Regions from separate parts of the Homo sapiens genome. Here region 1 is linked to region 2. The links are contacts of gene promoters, found by promoter capture Hi-C in human tissues and cell types (Jung and others, 2019). All regions are on one chromosome and are shown on one strand. The core of a region is centred on a gene start or on the middle of the fragment in contact, and the rest is flanking DNA. Distances in the headings are between cores, read along the strand shown. Region 1 overlaps TMEM230 (transmembrane protein 230). Region 2 holds the start of SLC23A2 (solute carrier family 23 member 2).

Region 1 (5,833 bases), core at 2,575-5,074, 100 kb before region 2:
CTTGGGTACAGTGGCACAATCAAGACTCACTGTAACCTTGACCTTCTGGGCTCAAGTAGTCTTTTCACCTCAGCCTCCTGAATAGCTGGGACCACAAGCATGTGCCACCACACCCAGCTAATTTTAAAATTTTTTGTAGAGACAGGATCTCTTAAATCCCCATAAGTTAGTACAGCCATCTATGTGCCAGGCAGTTAATAAATATATATCTAACAAATGAATGACTGTAAAGTCATTTCTGTTTTTGTTTTAAAGAAAAGTTTCTTATGATACAATGAATGATTTATGGAATGAGATTCGAACTAGAGTGAATGACATTCCTCTGAGATTCCTTTGAGTAACTGTGAGAGCAATAACTAGAGCTTCATCTCTTGCCAGTCCCTTTTATTTCTCAGAGCTGCACTGGGTGGTAGGACATACTTAAGACACATAAAGTATCTAGTTTGGTTCTTAATTACCCTCCTGTTTTTGCTGTTGTTGTATTTGAAACAGGCTCTGGCTCTGTCACCCAGGCTGGAGTGCAGTGGTGCAATCTCAGCTCGCTGCCTCTTCACCTCCTGGGCTCAAGCCATCCTCCCAGCTTAGCGTCCCAAGTAGCCGGGACTGCAGGCACATGCCACCACGCCCGGCTAATTTTTGTATTTTTTGTAGAGACGAGGTTTCACCATGTTGCTCAGGCTGGTCTCAAACTCCTGAACTCAAGTGATCCGCCTGCCTCAGCCTCCCACATTGCTGGGATTACAGGTGCGAGCTCTCCTCCCTGTTTTAAAGTGTTTGAGACTGGGCTTGATGGCTTATACCTGTAATCCCAGCACTTTGGGAGGCAGAGGTGGAAGGACTCCCTTGAGCCCAGGAGTTGGAGACCACCCTGGGCAACATAGTGAGACCTCGTCTCTACAGAAAAATTTAAAAATTAGCTGGGCATGGTGACGTATACTTGTAGTCCCAGCTACTTGAGAGGATGAGGCAAGAGAATTGCTTGAGCCCAGGAGTTCGAGGCTGCAATGAGCTGTAATTGCACCACTGCACTCCAGCCTGGGTGATAGAGCAAGACTCCGTCTCTAAAATCATAAAAATTAGGCCGGGCGCGGTGGCTCACGCCTGTAATGCCAGCACTTTGGGAGGCCGAGGCGGGCGGATCACCTGAGGTCAGGAGTTCAAGCCCAGCCAGGTCAACAAGGTGAAACCCTGTCTCTACTAAAAATACCAAAAAAATTAGCTGGGTGTAGTGGCGGGCACCTGTAACCCCAGCTGCTCAGGAGGCTGAGACAGGAGAATCACTTGAATCCAGGAGGCAGAGGTTGCAGTGAGCCAAGATCACGCCATTGCTCTCTAGCCTGGGCAACAAGAACGAAACTCCATCTCAAAACAAACAAACAAAAACATAAAAATTACAAATAATTAATTAAATGTTTGAACCCAGGTATTTGCATTAATGTTCTTCGTTGTCTTTTTCATCTCTATTTCTCTTCCAGTTTAAGAAAACCCCTCCTAAGATCCCTTATAAGGCCATCGCACTTGCCACTGTGCTGTTTTTGATTGGCGCCTTTCTCATTATTATAGGCTCCCTCCTGCTGTCAGGCTACATCAGCAAAGGGGTAAGCTGACGGGCATGTGGGAATAAGTTGTGAGATTTTTAAAATGTTAGCCAAGGCTCTAGTGTGCGTGTGTGTGTGTGTGTGTGTGTGTGTGTGTGTGTGTGTGTGTTTGTCCGTCCCAGTGGTCTGTTTTTTTTGAGACAGGGTCTTGCTCTGTCATCCAAGCTAGAGTGCAGTGGCACAACCTTTACCTCCCTGGGCTCAAGCGATCCTCTCACCTCAGCCTCCCGAGTAGCTGGGACTACACGTGTGTGCCACCACACCCAGCTAATTTTATTTTTTATTTACTTATTTTTGTTTGTTTTATTTTGTGTAGAGACAGGGTTTCACTATGTTGCCCAGGCTGATCTCTAACTCCTGAGGTCAAGCAGTCTGCCTGCCTCAGCCTTCCAAAGTGCTGGGATTGCAGGTGTGAACCATTGCCCCTGGCCAATTTTTTTTCCAATTTTTATGGGTACATAGTAGGTGTATATACTTAGGGGATACATGAGGTATTTTGATACAGCCATGCATTCATAATAATCACATCAGGCTAAATGGGGTATCCATCCCCTCAAGCATTCATCATTTGTATTACATTCCAATTATACTTTTATTTATTTATTTATTTTGAGACAGAGTCAGGCTGGAGTGCAGTGGCATAATATCGGCTAACTGCAACCTCCGCCTCCCAGGTTCATGCTATTCTTGTGCCTCAGCCTCCCGAGTAGCTGGAATTACAGACGTGCGCCACCGCACCCGGCTAATGTTGGTATTTTTAGTAGAGATGGGGTTTCGCCATGTTGCCCAGGCTGGCCTCCCAAAGTGTTGGGATTACAGGCATGAACCACTGTGCCTGGCCTATTTTTAGTTATATATATACATATACACATACATACATACATACATATATATATATTTTGGAGACAGAGTCTTGTTCTGTCACCCAGGCTGGAGTGCAGTGGCAGGATCTCAGCTCACTGCAAACTCCGGCTCGTGGGTTCAAGTGATTCTCCTGCCTCAGCCTCCTGAGTTAGCTGGGACTATGGTGGCAAGCCAGCACACTTGGCTTATTTTTGTATTTTTAGTAGAGATGGGTTTTTGCCATGTTGGCCAGGCTGGTCATGAACTCCTGACCTCAAGCGGCCTGCCCGCGTGGGCCTCCTAAAGTGCTGGGATTACAGGCGTGAGCTACCACGTCCAGCCTTAGTTATTATATTTTTAAATGTACAATAAATTATTCTCTAGTCACTTTGTGCTATCAAATACTAGAGCTTATTCATTCTATGTAACTATATTTTGTACCCGTTAACCTTCCCCATTCCCCCCTACCTTTCCCAGCCTTTGGTAACCATCATTCTACAATATCCATGAGTTCAATTGTTTTAATTTTTAGTTCCCGCAAATGAGTGAGAACATGGAAAGTGTGTCTTTCTGTGCCTGGCTTAATTTCACTTAACATAACGTTCTCCAGTTTCATCCATGTTGTTGCAAGTGACAGGATCTCATTCTTTTTAGTGGCTGAATAGTACTCCATTGCATATATGTACCATATTTTCTTTATTCACTTGTCTGTTGAAGAACACTTTGGTTGCTTCCAGATCTTGGCTGTTGTGAATAGTGCTGTCATAAATATGGAAGTGCAGATACCTCTTTGATAAACTGATTTCCTTTCTTTTGGGTATATACCTAGCTGTGATTGCTGGATCATATGGTAGTTCTATTTCATACTGTTCTCCATAGTGGCTATACTAATTTACATTCCCATCAACATTGTACGAGGGTTCCCTTTTCTCCACGTCCTCGCTAGCATTCGTTATTGCCGTTTTTTTTGGATAAAAGCCATTTTGGCTGGGTGCAGTGGCTCACGCCTGTAGTCCCAGCACTTTTGGAGGCCGAGGCAGGAGGATCACTTGAGCCCAGGAGTTCGAGACCAGCCTGCGCAACATAGCGAGACCTTGTGTCTATATTTTTTAAAAAGCCATTTTAACTAGGATGAGATGATATCTCATTGTAGTCTTGATTTGCATTTCTTTGATCAATGATGTTAAGCACCTTTTCATATACCTATTTGCCATTTGTATGTCTTCTTTTGAGAAATGCCCATTTTTGATTGGATTATTAGATTTTTTTTCCTACAGAGTTTGAGCTCCTTATATATTCTGGTTATTAATTCCTTGTCAGATGGATACTTTGCATATATTTTTTCCCATTCTGTGGGTTGTCTCTTCCTTTGCTGTACAGAAGCTTTTTAACCGGATGTGATCTCATTTATCTGTTTTTGTTTTGGTTGCTTGTGCTTTTGGGGGCATTACTCAAGAAATCTTTGCCCAGTCCAGCATCCTGGAGAGTTTCCCCCATGTTTTCTTATAGTAGTTTCATAGTTTTAGGTCTTACATTTAAGTGTTTAATCCATTCTCATTTGATTTTTGTATATGTCAAGAGATTTGAGGGGTCTAGTTTCATTCTTCAGCATATGGATATCCAGTTTTCCTAATACCATTTATTGAAAAGACTGGTTCTTTCCCCAGTGTATGTTTTTTTGTTTTTTGGTTTTTTTGTTTGTTTTTTTTTTTTTGAGACAGAATCTCACTGTGTCATCCAGGCTGGAGTGCAGTGGCACCATCTCGGCTCACTGCAACCTCAGCCTCCCAAATAACTGGGACCACAGGCATGTGCCACCACACTTGGTTAATTTTTTTTTCATTTTTTGTATAGATGAGGTTTTGCCGTGTTGCCCAGGCTGATCTCGAACTCCTAGACTCAAGCAGTCCAGGAGTACAGTGGTGTGATCACAGCTCTCTGCAACCTCAATCTTCAGGGCTCAGTCGATCCTCCCACCTCAGCTTCCCAAGTAGCTGGAGTTACAGGTGTGAGTCACCATACCTAGCTAATTTTTTTGTTTGTTTGGTAGAGATGAGATCTCATTATGTTGCCCAGGCTGGTCTTAAACTCCTAGGCTCAAGCAATCCTCCTGCCTCAGCCTCCCAAAGTGCTGGAATTACAGGCTTTAGCCACTGCACCCCTCTGACTATGTTTCCCGTTGTGTGTTAATTATGGTCAGTGTGAGGCCCACCCTAGCCTCCCAAAGTACTGGGATTACAGGCGTGAGCCACCACACCCGGTGGATGTAGAATTTTATCAAATGCTTTTCTAGCATCGATTGAAATAATCATATGGTTTTTGTCCTTCATTCTGCTGATACGATTTTATCACATTGATTGGTTTGTATAAGTTGAACCATCCTTGCCTCTCTGGGATAAATCCCACTTGGTCCTGATGAATGATCTTTTTAATGTATTGTTGAATTCAGTTTGCTAGTATTATCCTCCTTATTGAGGATTTTTGCATCAATGTTCATCAGGGATATTGGCCTATTTTTGTTTTTTCGATGTGTCTTTGCCTAGTTTTGGTATCAGGGTAAAACTGGCCTAGTAGAATCAGTTTGGAAGTATTCTCTCCATGTCTGTTCAGAATAGTTTCAGTAGGATTAGTATTCTTTTTTTTTTTTTTTTTTTTTGAGACAGGGTCTCATCTGTCATGCAGGTGTAGTGCAGTGGTGCGATCTCAGCTCACTGCAACCTTTGCCTCCCCGGCTTATGTGATCCTGCCACCTCAGCCTCACTAGCAACTGGGACCACAGGCATATACCACCATGCCCATCTAATTTTTGTATTTTTTGTCAAGACAGGATTTTACCATGTTGACCAGGCTGGTCTTGAAATCCTGAGCTCAAGCGATCTGCCTGCCTTGGCCTCCCAAAGTGCTGGGATTACAGGAGTGAACCACCATGCCCAGCCAAGTATTAATTCTTTAACTGGTATAATTCAGCAGCGAAACCATCTAGTCCCAGGCTTCTCTCTGCTAAGAGACTTTTTATTATGGCCTTAATCTCATTACTCTTTGTCTATTCAGGTTTTAGATTTTTTTCATTGTTCAATCTTTGTTTTTATATTCATGTCTGGTACAGCAGATTCCAGCAGAAAAACCAAAAAGATTTTCTTTTACATTTTGTTCTCTGTTGGCAAAACATGTTTTTCTTCCTTTGAGCAACAGTAAACTTCCATAGTTCCTATAGGGGAGGTGGTGGCAGGTAGGCAAACTTGGCCTCTGAGATATTAGACAGTTTGCCCTGTCATAGTTTGGAACAACATGGCTGAGCCTGGCATACAGGAGTCCTGATTGGTAAAGGGCTGTAGCTGGAGCAGCATGCTGTCATTGTAGCTGTGCAGTGCCATGGACATACTGTCAGTATT
Region 2 (6,421 bases), core at 37-2,536:
TGTGCCGTTGCACTCCAGCCTGGGTGACAGAGTGAGACCTTGTCTCTAAAAAATTAAATATAAGCAAATAAAAATGCAGTTATTAGATAAATAAATGGGAAGACACATTATTGTCAAGACACAGACCACACTTGCCTATTTCATAAAATTCCTTTAGTTGCTGCTCCCCCAACTGCATTAATATGTGTGATGTCACTTTCCAAAACTGTGTAAAACACATAAATAATTCTGATTATAAAATCAATTTCTCTCCATGTGAGGTCAGACAGACACCGTCTACAATTCTGTTTCTCAAGAGTTGCCCGGGAACTAGTACATTATCATTCAGTTAGTAAAGCAACCATGACAACGGTTTCAAGATGGAAGGTGTTAAGAAAGTACTAATTATTAGAACATTTAAAAAATTGTATTCAGATTTCAGCAGTGGCTCAATACGTGTGGTCCCCAGACCAGTAGCATCAGCATCACCTGGGAACTTGGCAGAAATGCAGATTCTGGAGCCTCACGCCAGACCTCCAGCCTTAGCAACTCTGGGGGTGGGGCCCAGCCATCTGCATCTTAATGAAGTCCTCAAAGTGAGGCTGCCCAGCTCTAAGACCGAGGGCCAGGGATTTACACTTGGCCTTTCTGCTTAGCGGTCCAAGAACCTCACCCGGGGGCATCACCTGGGGACAATTTAGAAGTGCAGACTTTTGGGCTGCACCCCAGAGCCACTGAATGTGAACCCGCCCCTAGCCTAACACGACCCCCAGAGAATTCACGTCTGAAAAGCCTTGGTCTGTATTACGATCTCTGCATGAGGTAAGAAGGACTTCTTCTCCAGTTAGGTTAAAAAAACTGGCTACCTAAGTGGAGAAGCGGTGAAATTGTTTTAAAACATCCAACCCACTGAGCCCAATGCACCACAAACTGCTTGCTTATCACGCTCGAGCAATGACAGGGCTCGGTGGCAGGCGGGGTAAAAAGGGGGGACCTGGACCAGGACACTCAGGGACCAGCGCTCTGCTTGCCAGGTGGGTCCCCAGGAACAGGTGTGACTGGTGGGAAGGGTCGCGAAGGGGGGCGATCTTTCTGCGCAGGGGAGGGAAATGAAAGGAACGGGAAGGGGACGGCTGGGTGCGAGGCCCGGGATGTTCCGGGGAGCGCTGCCGGGTGCCAGGGAGCAGCCCCTCCCCGGGGGGAGGCCCGAGGGCAGGGGTCGGGGGCGGGGAGGGAGGTGGGCCCCAGACCGGCGCGGGGGCGGGCGGCTCCGCTGCACCCCGCCCCCGGCCCGCCCCTCCGCGGCGCCATTTTGCAGGCGGCTGTCGCGGGGACCGGAGGCGGAGGCTGCAGCGGGCACTGCGGCGCCGAGGCGCGGCGGCAGGACGGGAACCACGCGAGCTGCAGCCAGGTGAGAGCCCGGCCGCCGCGCCCCCTGCCCGGCCTGCGGGCCGCACCTGCCGGCGGGGCCGCGAGGTGCTCGCCGCGCCCACGAGGCCGGCCTGGCACGGCCCCCGCGCGCTGTCACCCACCGGCCCCGCGGCGCGGCCTGCGCGCCCCCACCCCGACCCATCTCCCGGGACCCCGCGCCCGCCGGCCACCCTGGCCCCGGGGCCCAAGATGCCCGGCGGCCCTCAGCTCCTGCCGTTCTGCCGGCCGGGCCGGGCCCCCGGGGTACCCACCCCTTCCCGCCACGGGAGCCACAGCGCGCTCGGGCCCTCAGGCCGCGCAGCGGGGAGGCAAATGGGGCGCCCCCAGAACCCCACTGGCTGCCGCCGCCTCCTCCCGGGCTCTGCGCCCGCGCGTCCTGGGGTCGCTTCCCTCGCCCCTCCCCCGGTGGTGCGCACGGGCATCGTCTCGCCCCCTGGAATTCAGGGGCATCAGGAGGGGCGGCAAGAGGGTGCCTTTTACATTCTTGCTTTCTTCCCTTCTACAAAGACTGCGCGAAGTAATTTTAGAAGCAGCTCCTCCGACCCCGGGGCCTTTCTGGCCTGTTCCCTGGGGGGTCGCGAGTCCCCCTCCTTGCCACCTTTCGGGGGGAAAAAATGACATTTCGAGTGTGACTACTTTAAGGCGCAGGATTTTCTCCTTCGTTTGGTCCTAGATGCCCCCCCTTGGATGGGTGGCTGATAGGATGTCGGCCTGCAGGCTGGGGGTTTAAGCGTGACTGATGGGAAATTATCGATTGTCAGGGCAAAGGGTAAATGAGGGCAACTGCAGGTGGAAGAAAGTCACCCATAAGGGCTTTCTGGGTCTGCAGCGTTTGTAGTAGGTGCTACTTCTATTCTTGCAGTGCTGGGAGACGGGCGGGGGAAGATGCAGTCCCTGCTGACAATTGGGTCATCTGCGCGCAGAGAAGGCCCCGGGATGTGCGAGGACATGGGACTGGGAGTCCGGAGGCAGTCTGGTTTGAGCTGTCACTAATTGGCCATGTGACCTCCCTCAGCCGGCTTCGTCCTCTCTGAAGCAAAAGGCTGGAATTGGGGTGGCTGGAGCATTTTTATTTTATGCTTTTGTATTTGAATGCTGTTGGGTTTGGGCCTCACCGTTTCTGGTTGTCTACACCTGCCTTTTTCACCGTTGCAGGTGACGTTGCCTGCCTCCCCTGAAGGTGTTTGAACCTGGTGAGATGTATAAAGGGCCCTTTTCAGCTCAAAAAATCAGAATTCTGTGCTGGGTTATGGTTGGCTCTATCAGGGTCACTTATGAACGTATTACTACTGTTCTCTTTTCATTCATCCCCAATTTAATGGCTTTTGGGCACCAGTGGGTGTGCCCAGTGTAAGCTCTCATGGCACACCTGCTAGTTAAAGGGAGGCAGCAGGTGTGTCCAGCCTGTTCCATGTGACATCCTGAGCATGAGGTATCTGCTTTCTAGGCTATTTCCTTTGCCAAAATGGCAACCAGCTTCTTTCTTTTAATACCAAGGCATTTCTCTTTTGGTTTCTTTGCTTAGAGTGGAGGGTGATTTTTTAAGACAATAGGTATTTCAGGAACTTTTTATGTTGACAGTATTTTAGATGGTTGTCTGGCAGTTGTATTCTCTGACTGTGGCACGGTCAATTAAGTCAATTAAGTTTAAACATCTGTTGACATGTTTAAAAAATGCCTATTGAAGTACCTGGGCCGGGTGTTGTGGTTCACACCTGTAATCCCAGCACTTTGGGAGGCTGAGGTGGGAGGATTGTTTGAGGCCAAGAGTTCAAGACCAGCCTAGGCAACCCAGCAAGACTCCTGTTTCTATAAAAAAAAAAAAAAAATAGCTGAGTATGGCGGCCAGCTTAAAAAAAACCAGTACCTGGCTAGAAAAATGTAGATGGTTTTGCTAGGTTTCATGCCATACTATCTATCTCATTGATGGAGCAAACTCTAGTCTATGTAGCATTGCAGAAGTGAGTCATGTGTCCCGGGGCAGGCAAGCACATGTAGCCACCCACTGAGTAGTCTGTCCATCTGTGTCTGCCCATCCATCCATCCACTTGGTGACCAGGTTCTGTTGAACAGATCGTTGTTGAATAAACTGTGTCTTTTGCCCTCACAGAGCCTAAGGTCTAGTTTGTGGGGTGTTTGAAATCCCGAATTGGCTATTGTTGTCCTCTTCAGTGTCTCTAAAGACAAACCAGGGATCTATTTGGGGACCTATATTCTGGTACCACTGGTAGCTTGAGGAATTTTCCCATTTTGGTTAAGGTAATTAAAAGCAGTAGGCCGGGGCTGGGCATGGTGGCTCATGCCTGTAATCGCAGCACTTTGGGAGGCTGAGGCGGGCAGGTCGCTTGAGCTCAGGAGTTCGAGAGCAGCCTGGCCACCATGGTGAAACCTCGTCTCTACTAAAAATACAAAAGTTAGCCGGGCATGGTGGCGCATGCCTGTATTTCCGGCTACTCAGGAGGCTGAGGCAGGAGAATCGCTTGAACCTGGGAGGTGGAGTTTGCAGTGAGTCGAGATCGTGCCACTGCACTCCAGCCTGGGTGACAGAGTGAGACTGTCTCCTAAAAAAAAAAAAAAAAAGATCAACAGTAATGATTTGAAATTATATGGTGCTTTGTACATGTAAATTGAAGCTTTTTAAAAACGTATTTATATTTAATCCTCTTAGGCTTTTTAAATTTAAACATCTTACAGTCCTTCCTGAACCGTTTCCTGGCCTTGCCCATAAAACTCTCACACACCAGTCTGTTGGTTCCCAGTGCCCAGTAACCTCACCTCATTAATTCATTTTCATGCCCTGCTATTCCTCCAGTTGTTCTCTGGGCTTGCTTTTATTCTTTCTGTAGGGAACCATCCTCCTCCAGGTTAAGCTGTGCATTGCAGCCTCTAGGTTGAAACGAGCCCTTTGTGCGCTATGCCGTTCTTCTCATTTTCTCTGTGGCTTTGCTATTTTGAACCTGTTATTTCGTCACAGGTTCTAGGTTCTTGGCTCTCCTGTAATTGAGGTCTGCTTTCAGCTTGCACCTTTCATAGGCCTTTCATACATTTATTACATTGAGTGCCTGATCTGTGCTGGGTAATATTCTTGGTGCTTGGGATGCTGCAGGGAGATTCCCAGCCCACATGGAGCCCACACTGTAGGGATGTGGACAATGAGATCTGGTTCTGTGAAGAGGAATCTGACAAGGCTCGGGGGATTAAGTGTGGGGATGGGAGTTGATATTTTTGGAAGGGTAGACAGGGAGGAAGGTATATGAGTCTGCTAACACTGCCATAACAAAAATAGCACAGTGTGGGTGGCTTAAACAACGGAAATTTGTTTCGTATAATTCTGGAGTCTGGGAAGTCCAAGGTCAAGGTTCTGGCCTCTTTAGTTTCTGGTGAGGGCTTTCTTCCTGGCTTGTAGGTGGCCATCCTCTTGATGAGTCCTCACATGGCCTTTTCTTGGTGCCATTTATCTTTCTGTTCAAGCACTGTTGGTCACACCTGTAATCCCAGCACTTCAGGAGGCTGAGGCAGGAGGATCACTTGAGACCAGTCTAGGCAACATAATAAGACTCTGTCTCTACAAAATAAAATAAAATAAAATAAAAAATTCGCTGGACGTGGTAGTAGTGCCTGTAGTCCCAGCTACTCAGGAGGCTGAGGTGGGAGGATTGCTTGAGCCCAAGAGGTTGAGGCTGCAGTGAGCCATGATTGTGCCACTGCACACCAGCCTGGGTGACAAAGCTACTTTGTTTAAAAAAATAAAGTTTTCCTATTGGATCAGGGCCCCATCCTTAAGAACTCATTTAAACTTGGTTACCTCCTAAAGGCTCTATCTCTAAATACAGCCACATTGTGGGGGTAGGGCTTCAATATAATGAATTCTTTCGGTGGTGGTGGGGGATACAGTTGAGTTCATAGCAGAGGGCTTGAGTCATTTTTAACTAAAGATGTGTAGGGAGTGAGGCATGTGGAGATCTGGGAGAAGGATCATTCTGAGGGGAGGAAACAGCAGATACAAAGGCCCTGAGGCAGGAGGAGGGGAGAATTTGGTCTTGAGGTCAGAGAAACCATGGGGGTCAGATCATGTAAGGCCATGCGGACCACTGTAAGGCTGGTAGATTTTACCTTGAGGGTGGTAGAAGCCATTGGAGGGTTTTGGAGTAAAGAAGGGAGGTGGACTGATCTAGCTTTTAGCAAGCACACTCTAGGCGTTGCTGTGTGAGACAGATTGAAGGCAGGACAGCAAGGAGACCAGCCAGAATGCAGGGCTGAGGGGAGACTAGTGGGATTTCAAGGTGAGGTTGAGATTTGCTGATGAACCAGAAAGAAAACTGAGGAGGACTCCGAGGTTCTGGTCTTAGCACCTAGAAAGAAAGAGGCCATTAACTGAGATGCTGGAGGAGCTGGTTTAGGCCATGTTAAGTTGTGATGCCAACCCAGCATACCCAAATGCAGCAGAAAAGCAAGGGTGGAGATTTTTGGGGAAGGTCATCCTCAATGGAAATATAAATCTTGGGAGCTTCTCATTGTCCTTTGTCCCAATTTTCGACTTTGACCTCAGGTGACCTCAGCCAAGTCTGTGACCTCAGATCTAGGTGTCTCTAAGGCCCTCTATGGAAATTCCATCCTTAAAGGAGAGTGGTTTTCTCTGGTCAGTGATCAGGAAAATCTTCACTCATGAGTTGTTGTTTTTTTTTTTTTTTTTTTTTTTTGAGATGGAATCTTGCTCTGTCACCTAGGCTGGAGTGCAGTGGTGTGACCTCGGCTCATTGCAACTTCTGCCTCCCGGGTTCAAGGGATTCTCCTGCCTCAGCCTCCCAAGTAGCTGGGATTATGGGTGCATACCACTGTACCCGGCTAATTTTTGTATTTTTAGTAGAGATGGTGTTTCACCATGTTGGCCAGCCTGGTCTCAAACTCCTGACCTCGTGATCCGCCCACCTTGGCCTCCCAAAGTGCTGGGATTACAGGCATGAGCCACCGTGCCTGGCCCACTCATGAGTTTTGCCCACTCATGAGTTTT

The links. The method cuts DNA at HindIII sites, captures the fragments that hold promoters and counts their contacts. A contact is called where the count stands out against the background at its distance.
Region 1: a fragment that was not itself captured here is called in contact with the fragment with the promoter of SLC23A2 in region 2 in 2 of the 25 tissues and cell types used here (liver and spleen).

The regions. Positions count from the first base shown.
Region 1 is chr20:5,101,953-5,107,785 of GRCh38, reverse strand. TMEM230 (transmembrane protein 230) reads left to right here. Exons shown (of 4, transcript NM_001009925.2): 3 at 1,476-1,598. Among named protein-coding and RNA genes, the nearest start is that of TMEM230, 8.2 kb to the left of the region's middle. The HindIII fragment of the contact is 4,633 bases long and covers 1,508-5,833 here.
Region 2 is chr20:4,996,375-5,002,795 of GRCh38, reverse strand. It overlaps SLC23A2 (solute carrier family 23 member 2), which reads left to right and starts at 1,286. Exons shown (of 17, transcript NM_005116.6): 1 at 1,286-1,390. RefSeq lists enhancers at 741-890, 3,798-4,298, a promoter at 1,199-1,397 and silencers at 1,181-1,420, 1,611-1,770. The HindIII fragment of the contact is 14,848 bases long and covers 1-1,972 here.